Regions from separate parts of the Homo sapiens genome. Here all the other regions are linked to region 2. The links are contacts of gene promoters, found by promoter capture Hi-C in blood cells and fetal thymus (Javierre and others, 2016). All regions are on one chromosome and are shown on one strand. Each heading gives the region's core, a stretch centred on a gene start or on the middle of the fragment in contact. The rest is flanking DNA. Distances are from core to core; before and after follow the strand shown. Region 1 has its middle 5.4 kb from the start of SNRNP70. Region 2 holds the start of SLC17A7 (solute carrier family 17 member 7). Region 3 overlaps SNRNP70 (small nuclear ribonucleoprotein U1 subunit 70).

Evidence for each region. The method cuts DNA at HindIII sites, captures the fragments that hold promoters and counts their contacts. A CHiCAGO score of 5 or more calls a contact.
Region 1: a contact is called between a fragment that was not itself captured here and the fragment with the promoter of SLC17A7 in region 2, in 1 of 17 cell types (naive B cells). The highest score is 5.4, in naive B cells.
Region 3: a contact is called between a fragment that was not itself captured here and the fragment with the promoter of SLC17A7 in region 2, in 1 of 17 cell types (naive B cells). The highest score is 7.2, in naive B cells.

What each region holds. Positions count from the first base shown.
Region 1 is chr19:49,077,766-49,082,339 of GRCh38, reverse strand. It overlaps the pseudogene RN7SL708P. Among named protein-coding and RNA genes, the nearest start is that of SNRNP70, 5.4 kb to the left of the region's middle. The HindIII fragment of the contact is 3,625 bases long and covers 248-3,872 here.
Region 2 is chr19:49,440,122-49,444,557 of GRCh38, reverse strand. It overlaps SLC17A7 (solute carrier family 17 member 7), which reads left to right and starts at 3,031. Exons shown (of 12, transcript NM_020309.4): 1 at 3,031-3,240. The coding sequence starts at 3,179. RefSeq lists an enhancer at 628-737. The HindIII fragment of the contact is 19,375 bases long and covers 1-4,436 here.
Region 3 is chr19:49,096,197-49,100,741 of GRCh38, reverse strand. It overlaps SNRNP70 (small nuclear ribonucleoprotein U1 subunit 70), which reads right to left. Exons shown (of 10, transcript NM_003089.6): 5 at 2,251-2,315; 6 at 2,038-2,100. Among named protein-coding and RNA genes, the nearest start is that of SNRNP70, 13 kb to the right of the region's middle. RefSeq lists an enhancer at 1-826. The HindIII fragment of the contact is 8,758 bases long and covers 1-4,545 here.

The DNA.
Region 1 (4,574 bases), core at 811-3,310, 360 kb after region 2:
GGCTCAGGGTGCAATCTGCTGGCAGACCTGTCACTCTGGGATCTAGAGAGGAGGGGTCCCCTTCTCACAGCTCCACTAGGCAGCGCCCTGGTGGGGACTCTATGTTAGGCCTCCAACCCCACCTTTCCCCCTTGGCACTGTCCTAGTAGAGGCTCTCTGTAGGGACTCCAACCATGCAGCCGACTTCTGCCTGGACACCCAGGCTTTCCTACACATCCTCTGAAATCCAGGTGGGAGCTGCTAAGCTTCCTTCACTCTTGCATTCTGTGCACCTGCAGGCTTAATCCCACATGAAAGCTGCCAAAGTTTATGGCTTGCACCCTCTGGAGTGGTGGCCCAAGCTGTACTTGGGACCCTGTGTGTCATGGCTGGTGATCGAACAGCAGGGATGCAGGGGAGCAGTGTCCCCAGGCTGAGCAGGAGACAGGGCCCTGGATCTGGCCCAGTAAACCACTCTTTCCTTATATGCCTCAGAGCCTGTGATGGGGGAGGCTGTTTTGAAGACTCCTGAAATGCCTTCAAGGCCTTTTTCCCATTGTCTTGGATGTTAGCACTTGGCTTCCTTTTAGTCACGCAACCTCTCCAGCAAGGCAATACAGCCTGCTTCTATTTCTCTCCTAAAAAATGCTCTTCCCTTCTCTACCACATTGCCAGGTTGTGACTTTTCTAAACTTTTATGCTGTGCTTCCTATTTATTGATTGATTTTTCAGAGACAGGGTCTCACTGTGTCACTCAGGCTCATGTGCAGTGGCTATTCATAGGCATGATCCCACTCCTGATCAACATGGGAGTTTTGACCTGATCCATTTCCAGCCTAGGTCAGTTCAACCCCTGCTAGGCAACCTGGTAGTCTCCCACGCATGGGAGGTTACCATATTGAAGCCAAACTTAGTATGGACACCTAATCAGCATAACACACTACAGCCCAGAACTTCCTGGGCTCAAACAATCCTTCTGCCTCAGCCTCCAAGTAGCTGGGACTACAGGCATGTGCCACAGAGCCTGGCTGCCTCTCTTTATTTATTTATTTATTTAAGACAGAGTCTTGCTCTGCCACCCAGGCTGGAGTGCAGTGGCGCAATCTCGATTCACTGCAAGCTCCGCCTCCCAGGTTCATGTCATTCTCCTGCCACAGCCTCCTGGGTAGCTGGGACTACAGGCGCCTGCCACCACACTCGGCTAATTTTTTGTATTTTTAGTAGAGACGGGGCTTCACTGTGTTAGCCAAGATGGTCTTGATCTCCTGACCTCGTGATCCGCCTGTCTTGGCCTCCCAAAGTGCTGGGATTACAGGCGTGAGCCACCGCACCTGGTCCAGAACATCCCTTTTTAAGAATGAAAACTTGCCAGGCACGGTGGCTTACGCCTGTAATCCCAGCACTTTGGAAGGCCGAGGTGGGTGGATCACCTGAGATCAGGAGTTCAAGACCAGCCTGGCCAACACAGTGAAACCCTATCTCTACTAAAAATACAAAAATCAGCCAGGTGTGGTGGCACACACCTGTAATCCCAGCTGCTCAGGAGGCTGAGGCAGGAGAATCGCCAAGATCGCGCCATTGTACTCCAGCCTGGGCAACAAGAGCCAAACTACGTCAAAAACAACAACAACAACAAAAAGAAATAGAAGAAAAGAAAGAGAAAGAAAGATAGATTTAAATTATTCGGGTGTGGTGGCTCAGGTCTGTAGTCCCAGCTACTTGAGAGGCTGAAGTGGGAGGATCTGTTTGAGCCTGGGAGGTCAAGGCTGCAGTGAACTATGATTACAACACTGCACTCCAGCCTGGGCAACAGAGTGAGACCTTGTCTCAAGAAAAAAAATGTTAACATCACCAGTGATATGGCATATGGACATCATACACCCCCCAGTATGATATAATGAGAAGAGCAATGCCTCTCTGTGGCATTCTCTCTACCCCCACCCAACAAAAAGTATAACCTCAATCCAAGCAAGATAACAGATCAGAGGAACACAAATTGAGAGACAGTCTACAAAACAACTGACTAGTATTCTTCTAGTTTCCAGATCATGAAAGACAAGGAAAAAGTAACAAACTATCACAGATTGCAGAAGACTAAGGAGGTATGACAACCAAATGCAACATAGTAACCCCGACTGCAGCCTGGCGTGGGAAAAAGACATTAGTGGAAATATAGAAAACCTGAATGAACTCTTTCATTTTGTCAAAAGTATTGTGCCACCTCAATGTCTTGGTTTTGAGACAGAGTCTGGCTCTCTCACCCAGGCTGGAGTGCAGTGGTGCGATCTTGGCTCACTGCAACTTCCACCTCCCGGGTTCAAGCCATTCTCCTGCCTCAGCCTCCCGAGTAGCTGGGACTACAGGCACCCGCCACCACGCCCAGCTAATTTTTGTACTTTTAGTAGAGTCGGGGTTTCACCATGTTGGCCAGGCTGGTCTCAAACTCCTGACCTCAGGTGATCCGTCCCCTCTAGCCTCCCAAAGTGCTAGGACTACAGGCGCGAGGCACTGCTCCGGCCAATGTCTGAGCTTTAACAAACGTTGCCAAAGCAATGCAACATTCTAACATTTGGGGAACCTGGGTGATGGATATTTTTTAAATGTCTGTACAATCTTTGCAACTCTTCTGTAAGGCTACAAATAGTTCAAAGTGAAAATGAAACAAAACAGGCCCAACACAATAGCTCGCACTTGTAATCCCAGCGCTTTGGAAGGCTGATGTGGGAGGATTACCTCAGGTCAGGAGTTCGAGACCAGCCTGGCCAACATATTGAGACCAAAAATTAGCCCGGGCACGGTGGCTCATGCCTGTAATCCCAGAACTTTGGGAGGCCAAGCCAGGTGGATCACAAGGTCAGGAAATTGAGACCAGCCTGGATAACACAGTGAAACCCCATCTCTACTTAAAATACAAAAAAAATTTTAGCCGGGCGTGGTGGCACGCGTCTGTGGAGGTGGAAGTTGCAGTGAGCCAAGATTGGGCCACTGCACTCCAGACTGGGTGACAGAGTGAGACTCCATCTCAAAAAAAAAAAAAAAAAAAAAAAAAAAAGGCAGAGCAGGGCCAGTGGCTCACACATGTAATCCTAGCGCTTTGGGAGGCTGAGGCCAGAGGATTGTTTGAGCCCAGGAATTTAAGATCGGCCTGGACAACATAGTGAGACCTTATCTCTACCAAAAATTTTAAAGAAAATTAGCCGGGCATGGTGGCGCACACCTGTAATCTCAACTACTCAGGAGGCTGAAGCAGAAGACTTGCTTGAACCCAGGAGGCGGAGGTTGCAGTGAACCGAGATCGCACCACTGCACTCCAGCCTGGGCAACAGAGTGAGATTCTGTCTCAAAAAATAAATAAAATAGGCCGGGCGCGGTGGCTCACGCCTGTAATCCCAGCACTTTGGGAGGCCGAGGCGGGCGGATCACGAGGTCAGGAGATCGAGACCATCCCGGCTAAAACGGTGAAACCCCGTCTCTACTAAAAATACAAAAAAATTAGCCGGGCGTAGTGGCGGGCGCCTGTAGTCCCAGCTACTTGGGAGGCTGAGGCAGGAGAATGGCGTGAACCCGGGAGGCGGAGCTTGCAGTGAGCCGAGATCCCGCCACTGCACTCCAGCCTGGGCGACAGAGCGAGACTCCGTCTCAAAAATAAATAAATAAATAAAATAAAATAAAATAAAACAAATGCTACCATAACCTCAGAGAATGACTCTGAGGAATTGGAGAGTCTGACTGTATTATTTTCTTGTTGCCGCTACAACAACTTACCACGAACTTAGTGGCTTAAAACAACACAAGTTTATTAGAATGCAATTCTAGAGGTTAGACGTCGAAAACAGGGCTCTGTTTCCTCTGGAGGCTCTAGGGGAGAGTCTGTTTCCTTGCCTTTTCAAGCTTCGGGAAGCCGCCCCCATTCCTTGGCTCATGGCCGTTCCTCCGTCTTCAAACTTCAAAGCCAGCACCATGGCATCCTCTCTTCTCTGACCTCTATGTCCATCCTCACATCTTCCATGAATCAGACCTTCCTGCATCCCTCTTTTTTTTTGATTTTTTATTTGTGAGACAGAGTCTCACTCTGTTGCCCAGGCTGGAGTGCGGTGGCTCAATCTCAGTGCACTGCAGCCTCCACCTTCTGGGTTCAAGTGATTCTCCTGCCTCAGCCTCCCCAGTCGCTGGGATTACAGGCGCCCACCACCATGTCCAGCTAATTTTTGTTATTTTTAGTAGGGATGGGGTTTTGCCATGTTGGCCGGTCTGGTCTTGAACTCCTGGCCTCAGGTGATCCACCTGCCTCAGGCTCCCAAAGTGCTGGGATTACAGGAGTGAGCCACTGCACCCAGCCACGTCCCTCTTTTAAAGACCCTTATGATTAGTGGGCCTACCCAAATGATCCAAGATAATATCCCTAACTCATCAGCCTTAATTTTTTATCTTTTATTTTTTTGAGACAGGGTCTTGCTTTGTCACCCAGGCTGGAGTGCAGTGGTGTGATCATAGCTCACTGCAGCTTTGACTTCCTTGGCTCAAATGACCCTTCCACCTCAGCCTCCCAAGTAGCTGGATTACTGATGTGCATGACCACACCTGGCTTTTTGTTT
Region 2 (4,436 bases), core at 1,782-4,281:
TAGATGGAGGAACTTCAGTGGTAAATGCTCAAAGCACAATGTGAGTTAGTGGGGCATGGTGGTGCACACCTGTTGTCCTCAGCTACTCGGGAGGCTGAGGTGGGAGCCCAGGGAGGTTAAGACTGCAGTGAGCTGCCCCTGGGCGACAGAGTGAGACCCTGTCTCAAAAAGGAAGGAAGGGAGGAAGGAAAGGAGGAAGGAAGGAAAGAAGGAAGAAAGAAGGAAAAAGAAGAGAAAGAAAAAGGAAGGAGGAAGGGGAAAGGAAGGAAGACAGAGAAAGAAGGAATGAAGGAAGGAAAGAAAAAAGAAGAGAAAGAAAAAGGAAGGAGGAAGGGGAAAGGAAGGAAGACAGAGAAAGAAGGAATGAAGGAAGGAAAGAAAAAAAGAAAAAGGAAGGAGGAAGGGGAAAGGAAGGAAGACAGAGAAAGAAGGAATGAAGGAAGGAAAGAAAAAAGAAGAGAAAGAAGAGGAAGGAAGGAAAGAAAAGGCAGGCAGGCAAGCACAATGTGTCTGCAATGGGGTGAATTGTGAGGGAGGGGGAGAAAAGACGGGGAAGAGGTCAGGGTGGGAGTGACTTCAGGTAGGGTCTTTCCGGCCGCGGAACGGATGAGCGAACGTGGGCGCCGTGTCCACCAGAGGGCGCAACCTTTCCCTGCCCATCGTCTCAGAGAACTACATCTCCCAGCGGCCCTCGGAGTGCGCGGCCCTTCTCAAACGAGCGCTGAGGCTCAGAGGCCGCTGGGACTTGTGGTTGGGACGGTGAGCCGCTGGAGGGGGCCGAGTAACTCATTCCCAGGTCCTGAAAAAGTGTGCGGCTGAGTCCTTTCCTCCTTCCTCGGTTTCCATGGCGATGGTTTCGGCAAAGGCCCAAGTTTTGGCAGCGGCGGGGCCCGCTTCCCACTCCCTCCTCTTCACCATCTGCTCCACCCTCACACCTGGCCCCAAGCCGCAACCACCGCCTCCGCACCCGGGCCGGGGACTCTGCAGCCACTGGGTGGCGCGTGTGAGCGGCTCCCGCGCTGCTACTTCAGCCCCACGAGTCCCAGTTCCTACCTCCCTCCTGCCTCAGACCCGCAGCGTCCTCCGTTCTGGGGTCCCAGGGGTTTCTCAAAGCTGTGAGACCCAGAGACACAGCCAGTCAAGGCTGGAAGCGAGAGGCTGCGGCGGTCAGTGGCTTCCCGGCCACCCCGTCCTTGGCGCCCGCCCGACGCGCCGTCTGCTCCTCCCACCCCACCGCGGGCCGCATCATGAAAATTTAATACCAAATGCATTTGCGGCCCGACGCGGGGAGGTAGTGGGGAAAGGATCACCCTCCTGGGGCCTGGATCTGGAGGTGGACTCAGCGCCGGGAGATGGGCTGGTCTGAGGACAGGAGCGGGGCGGGACCCTGTCTGCGGGCCCAGGACAGGGAAGGGCCGGGCTCTACCCAACGGGGCGGCGCTGGAATTCCGGCGTGGAGACAGAGTTCGGTGGGCGGGGACAGATTCCGGGGGTGGGAGCAGGACTGGGAGGGCAGGGACAGATCCCAGAGGCGGAGGCGGTGGGCGGGGGACAGATCCCATGGGGCAGGGGCAAGACTGGGAGGGCGGGGACAGATCTCAGGGGCGGAGGCCAGAGCTCGGTGGGCGGGGTCAGATTCCGGGGGCGGAGGCAGGACTGGGAGGTCGAGGACAGATCCCAGTGGCGAGGGTCAGAAGTCGGAGGGCGGGGACAGATCCCATGGGGCCGGGGCAAGACTGGGAGGGTAGGGAGAGATCCAGGGGGCGGGGAGAACTGGGTGGGCGGGGACAGATCCCATGGGGCAGGGGTAGAACACAGAGGGCGGGGACAGATCCCAGGGACGGAGGCCAGAACTCGGTGGGTGGGGACAGATTCCAGGGGGCAGAGATAGATCCTGTGGGGAAGGGGTAGAACTCAGATGGCAGGAACAGATTCCAGGGGGCAAGGACAGAACTGAGAGGGCGGGAACAGAGCCAGGGACAGATCCTAGGAGAAGGGGACACAACTCCAACGGTGGGGAGAGAACTCAGAGGGCGGGGGCAGAACTCAGGTCAGCGACAGATCCTAGGGGAGGAGACAAATTCAGAGGGCGGGTGAGGATGCCAGGGGGTGCGGATCACAATTTAGGGGGCGGGACAGATCTCAGGGGGTGGAGACAGAACTCAAATAGAGGAATGGATCCCCCGGAGCTAGGGAAGAACTCAGAGCGCGGACAGATCCCAGAGGAGCAGAGAAATAACACAATGGGGAGACTATGGGGTCGCAGCTGGCACTGGCGGGGTGTGTGAAATATAACTGTGGGGGGCGGAAGCCAGAGGGAAGAAAATCGGGGTTAGGGAATGAAACTCAGGGAGAGAAGCAACAGGGAGGAGAGAGACGCCGGAGGGAGAATAGAGCTGGAGGAGTATGGGATTCAAAGGGGAAAGATGGAAACTAAGGAGGAGATGGAGCTCAAGGGTGAAGAACCCGGGTGGCGAAAGGGACTAGAGGGGGACGACAGGTGGATCGAAGTAGGCGTTGGACTTGAGGGGAAAGAATTTCCCTTGAATGAGAAAACAAAGAACTCCCTGGATGAGACTATTGGAACTGGGGACGAGGTGGGATGGGGATGGAATTGCGGGGTGGGGGCGGGGAGGAGTGAAGGAACTGGAGGATGAACGCAGAGGGAAAGTCAGAGAAGACAGGATTGTAAGGGACGCAATTAGGGGGAACAGAAGTCGGGGAGAGAAATGATGGGGATGAGAACTCAGGAGAGGAGAGAAAATCTGGGTAGGAGCCAGGGGTGATGGAACAGGGATAGGGGGAGTAGCCTGGGGAAGGAACAGAATTGGGGGGCGTGAACTCGGAGGCGTGAGTTCAGAACCCACAGGCGTGGTCTTGGAAGGCTCAGGAGGGGACAGGACGAGGATGAAAGGGCTGCGAGAGGGGGCGGGTCTGACAGACGAGGGGAGGGGCCTGGTGGGGCCGGGGCGGGGCCTCCCGCGCCCCGCCCCCGGCGCTGAGTCCTGTGACAGCCCCCGGGCCGCCTGCACTTGCAGCCTCCTTCCCCCCGAGCGGAGCTGCGGGGCCGGCCGGGCCGGGGCTGGACCCCGGGAACCCGGACGCGGCCGCCCGGGCCCGCGGGCGGGGGGATCGGCGGGGGGGACCCGCGGGGTGACCGGCGGCAGGAGCCGCCACCATGGAGTTCCGCCAGGAGGAGTTTCGGAAGCTAGCGGGTCGTGCTCTCGGGAAGCTGCACCGGTGAGCCTGGCGGGGGTCCCGGGAGAAGAGTGGGAGGATCTGAGGAGGATGCTAATTCCCACCTGGGCGCAGACTGACAGATGAACGGGCGATACCCCGGCATGGGGGTCCACCCATCTGTCCAGTTTTCTGCCGTGGGCTCCGACGGCGCTGTTCTCCCTGGTCGAGCCTTGTCCATTATCCTGTTCCTTTTTCTGCACCCCACCCCACCCGGCTCCACTCTCTCTGGTGCTGTAAATGCCTCTCTCCCGGGTCTCTGGCTCCTCCCCCACCACTTCTGGGTCTCTGTCCCCGTCTCTTTCTGGATGTCTCTGCCCCTTTTCTCTCTGGGTCTCCGTCTCCCTCTTTTTCCAGATCTCGGCTCCCTTCTCTCTGGGCCCCTCCTTCTCCCTAGATCTCTGCCTCCGCTTCTTTGCGTCTCTGTGCCCCTCTCTCTGGTTCTCTGGCCATTGCTCTCACTGGATCTCTATCAACTCCTGACTCAGAGTCTCTGTCCCCCTCTTTCTGGGTCTCTCCTCTTCCCTGGATCTCTGGTCCCCACTTCTCTGGGTCCCTGTCCCCGTCTCTGTGTTTTAATTCTCCCACCATGGGTCTCTCCGTCTCTCTGTGTCTTTTTCCGTTTCTGTCTGGCATGGAGTTTAATCTGCAGCTAAAGCGGATTGGGGCTCATAGCCCGTTGTCCTTGAGGGGGTGAGGCTGGGTGGAAGAAGTCACAGCACCCTGGGTCCCTGGGAGAGAAAGGAGTTAGAGGCCAAAAATTTCGGCTCCTGGGGTAGGACAGCCTTCCCAAAGGATACAGGCTGGGGCTGACAGGGACTCCCTCCCAACCAGGTTGATGACCCCAGTGAACCGAGTGTCCCTCAGGATAATCTGGACACCTCCCCACAGGCTCTCACCCCCAACCCCAGCTTTGGCTCTAAGTCAGATAAATTACTCAGCTGCGGAAAAGCCTAAAAATATATCTGGCCACAGTGCACGAAGGAGATGGCCTCATCAGCACCATGCCCCTGCCGCCGTGCCCTCAGGCCCTGTCCCCTTGGCCCACAGCCCTGACCCTGTGTTTCGCTGAGCTTCAGTCCACCTCGCTAGGCCATGGGGGTCCTTTGCTAAGTCTAACATCAGTCTTGCTTGCTGCAGATCACCTCTTAGCTCCAAAGTTACCCCACCCTCTAGTAACATGAGAGACAAGAATAAGG
Region 3 (4,545 bases), core at 411-2,910, 340 kb after region 2:
CTGCACCTCCCGGGTTCAAGCGATTCTCCTGCCTCAGCCTCCCAAGTAGCTGGGATTACAGGCGTGCGCCACCACACCTGGGTAATTTTTTGTATCTTTAGTAGAGATGGGGTTTCACCATGTTGGCCAGGCTGGTCTTGAAATCCTGACCTCATGATCTGCCCTTCTCGGCCTCCCAAAGTGCTGGGATTACGGGCGTGAGCCACTGTGCCTGGCCAAGGACAGGGAAGTTCTAAGGGAAAAAGAAAGGACACGTGCACAGCCAGGGAGGCTTGAGAGAACGTGGCACGATGAGGGATGCGTCCCATCCCGAGGATGGCAGCAAGAGAAGGGAGGAGATGGGGTGGGGTGGAGGTCCATGAGGCCACACAGCTTGGGGAAGAGCCCTGGAAGGCCAGATGGTGGCAGCTGGACCTGTCCTAACATGCTAGGGACCCATGGGATGCTGTCAGCAGAGATGGGGTCAGCTCTGGATGTCAGAAAGACCCCTTGGGGACCATGTCAGGGAGAACAACGGGCAAGGCAGGGCTGTTGAGACAGAGGTGGCCAGAATGAACCAGGGAAGATTTCTGGGAGGTAACAGCATTTGAGCTGGTCCCTAAAGGATGGCTAGTTCGCCATTCACATCACTACCAGTTGGCGACCAACCTGTATCATGGATGAACCTGGGACCCCACAGCCTCCAAAACACAACCAAGATTCCTGACTTGAATGGATCAGAGGGACAAGGGTGGGGCCAAGGTTGTCACTGGGCTGTGCAAGGCAGAACAACGTGTGTGTGTGTGTGTACACATATATACACATGCACATACACACACACACACAGGCACGAGACACCACACTCGGCTAATCTTTTGTATTTTTGTAGAGACGGGGTTTCGCCATGTTGGCCAGGCTGGTCTTGCCTCCTGACCTCAGGTGATCTGCCTGCCTCGCCCTCCCAACATGTGGGATTACAGGCGTGAGCTACCACGCCCAGCCTACAATACTTTTTTTTTTTTTTAAGATGGAGTCCCACTCTGTTGCCCAGGCTGGAGTACAGTGGTGTGATCTCGGCTCACTGCAACCTCCGCCTCCTGGGTTCAAGCAATTCTCCTGCCTCAGCCTCCTCAGTAGCTGGGATTACGGGCGCCCGCTATCATGCCCAGCTAATTTTTGTATTTTTTTTTTTTTTGTACAGACCAGGTTTCACCATGTTGGTCAGACTGGTCTCGAACTCCTGACCTCAGGTTATCCGCCCACCTCGGCCTCCCAAAGTGCTGGGATTACAGGCGTGAGCCACCGTGCCTGGCCCAACAATACTTTTTTTTTCCTTTGTGTGGAGAACGGGGTCTTGCTATATTGCCCAGGCAGGTCTCGAACTCCTGGGTTTAAGCTATCCTCCCGCCTCTGCCTCCTTAAGAGCTGAGATTACAGGTGTGAGCCATTGCACCCGGCCTGACATGTATAAATATTTTTAAAAGACGTATCAGAAACAGAGCAGGGAGAAGAGACATGGCTAACATCAGTTTGTGTGTAGGATGGCCTCAAGCCCTCACTACTGCCCAGTGAAGGCATGCGTCTCCCATGTTAGATAAAGGAAATCAGACACAGAGCACTTCAGTGACTTAAAAGAAGATTGGTAAAACAAAGCCTTCCTCTAAAACGGGACTCAGCATAGGTATTCTGCCAAGACCCAGAGAGTAGATATTTCCAGCTTGGACGGCCGTATACTGTTGCAACAATCCAACCCTGCCTTACAACAGTAGCAGCCAAAGACAATGTGTAAACAAACAGACCTGCCTGGCTGAGCAGCAGGAAAACTTTAAGTCTGTAGTTTGCCAACCCCTGCTCTCAACCAACCACCAGCAGTCATTACTTCTCATTTTACTTCTGCTGCCCAAGGTCTGCTGCATGGAGATACAGTCAGGATGCATAAATCCAGGCCCTGAAATGGTGTGAGCCATGCTCAGGGCTGGGACCTCTCTCCCTCCCTCTCAGGATACAGCCCCTCCTCCATGCACCCCCAATTCAAACACCCTGACCCACTCCACTTACTCTTTTGATAGGTCCGTACACCTCAAACTCTCTCCGGAGCTTGGATTCTGTTGTGTCATAATTCTACAAGGAGATGGATATGACGTTAAATGGGAGAACAGAGCTGTCCCACAGCCCCTGGAACATTCCCCTGTACCTAGCCTATTTGACCTTTGTGCCAGACCCAGGCTCTCAGCAGCGTGGGGTTCCAGGAGCTAGGAGCTGGGGACTTACCACTCTCGCCACGAAGAGAGTCTTGAAGGCATCCCCCTGAGCATTGGGATCATTGTGAGGGTCCCCTGTGCAGGAAGAAAGGAATTTTATAAGTTGAAGGTGTCCATGGTCTCAGGTAGCAAAACAAATACGATGGGCAGAGGCCAAGAAGAAAACGGTGGCATTGGGAGAGGCCCCTAACTGGAGGAACATGGGTGGTGACCTGGCAACCTCAGGGACGCCCCTCTCTGAACCTGTTTCTCTGAGGCACAGTGGGCTTTATCAGAGTGGCTGAGAGATAATCCAGGCTGCTGAGGAGAGGAGGTAAGGCTGACTTCAAGCTGACAGGATGTGGGCAGGCCCAACTGCCATTTCAGACCTACATAAACCCTAAGGGCCCTATCGCTCCCAGATGCAAGGTGATCCAAACAGTAATAGCCCAACTGGGCCTCCCTGGAGATGCAGCTGATGCCCCCAGGTTCTGAGCTCCCTCCTGTAGGCAGGGCCACACTGCCACCTACTGGACACAGACTGCAACTACAGCCCACAGGAAAACCTGAGACCAAGCTGCCCCAAGGCTAAGAATGAGAGCCAGGAAAGCAAACACTAAGTAAGCTCTGCTTTCCTGTCTGTGCCCTGTGTCTCTAAAAAGGAACCCAGGAACTGACTAGCGTCAGATCAGATTCTCACTCCAGCCTCACTACTGTGAGGCAAACTGTTCTACCTGGCTACTAAGGAATAACAATCTCCAAAGAAAAGAGCCAGGAATCTCCTAAGAAACCAATTTCATAGGTGATCCTGCTGGGTCAGGCCTGGGAATAAGTCCTTTTCACCAAATATGGTGGCTCCAGCACATAATGACCCTGACTCCTGCCGGGGCCTTAAGGACACTCTGCCGGTTCTTCCATGGTATAGTGTTTCCCTCGGAAGCCCTGTCACATTCTGGGAGAGCATGAGAAAAGGAATAACATTAACCCATTTATGCCAGAGGTTGCAATTTTTTGAATTGCAGACACGTGTGAAAAATCAGACCCTGGTGATGACCCGAGCAGTAGGATATAAATAACTCCCACATGCTTAGCGTTCCAATAATGGAACATTAGACATATAATTTACTGAACACGTACTATGGCCCAGACACAGTGCTGGACACTGATATTTATTTATTACTATTTTGCAAATGGAAGTAAAACAGAACAAACTCGAGACACAGAAAAAGGGAGGTGTTAAAGTGGCGAAGGGCCAAGGCAGACTTCACCTCTCACCCCGGGCACTTGAACTACCAGGCTCCTTCCCCGAACCCTCGGGTGCTACCTTTTCAGGAAGACAGTGTGGGTGTTGCCAGAAGCTAGAGAAATAAAGTCTCAGATTTTTTTTTTTTTTAAACAGAGTCTTGCTCTGTTGCCCAGGCTTAAAGTGCAATGGCGCAATCTCGTCTCACTGCAACCTCTGCCTCCGAGGTTCAAGCAATTCTCCTGCCTCAGCTTCTCAAGCAGCTGGGATTACAGGCGTGCACCACCACATCCAGCTAATTTTTGTATTGTTAGTAGAGATGGGGTTTCGCCATGTTGGCCAGGCTGGTCTCGAACTCCTGACCTCAGGTGATCCGCCCTCCTCGGCCTCCCAAAGTGCTGGGATTACAGGCATGAACCACCGCGTCCCGCCAGATTTGTTTCTTATGAGAGAATTTAACTACAAGTATAAACTAAGGTCAAGATGACTTTAAGGAATGTACTTTTTTTGAGATGGAGTGTCACTCTTGTTGCCCAAGGTCAGTGCAATGGATGGCGAGATCTCGGCTTACTGCAACCTCCGCCTCCCGGGTTCAAGCGATTCTCCTGCCTCAGCCTCCCAAGTAGCTGGGATTACAAACACACACCACCACACCCAGCTAATCTTTTGTATTTTTAGTAGAGACGGGGTTTCACTATGTTGGCCAGGCTGGTTTCGAACTCCTGACCTCAGGTGATCTGCCTGCCTCGGCCTCCCAAAGTGCTGGCATTACAGGCGTGAGCCACCGCACCTGGCCTAAGAATATTTTAGAAAACAGAAGCCTAAGCCACAATTTAAGGGAATCGCTATCTGGGACAAATGGAAACGTCTGAAAACAACTCCATCTCAGCGTTCTCTCCACCCACTCCTCAAGTTCCTTGCCAGGCTGGGCACAGTGGCTCACACCTGTAATCCCAGCAATTTGGGAGGCTAAGGCGGACGGATCACCTGAGGTCAGGTGTTTGAGACCAGCCTGGCAAACATGGCGAAACCCCGTCTCTACTAAAAATACAAAATTACCAGGGCATGGTGGTGTGCGCCTAT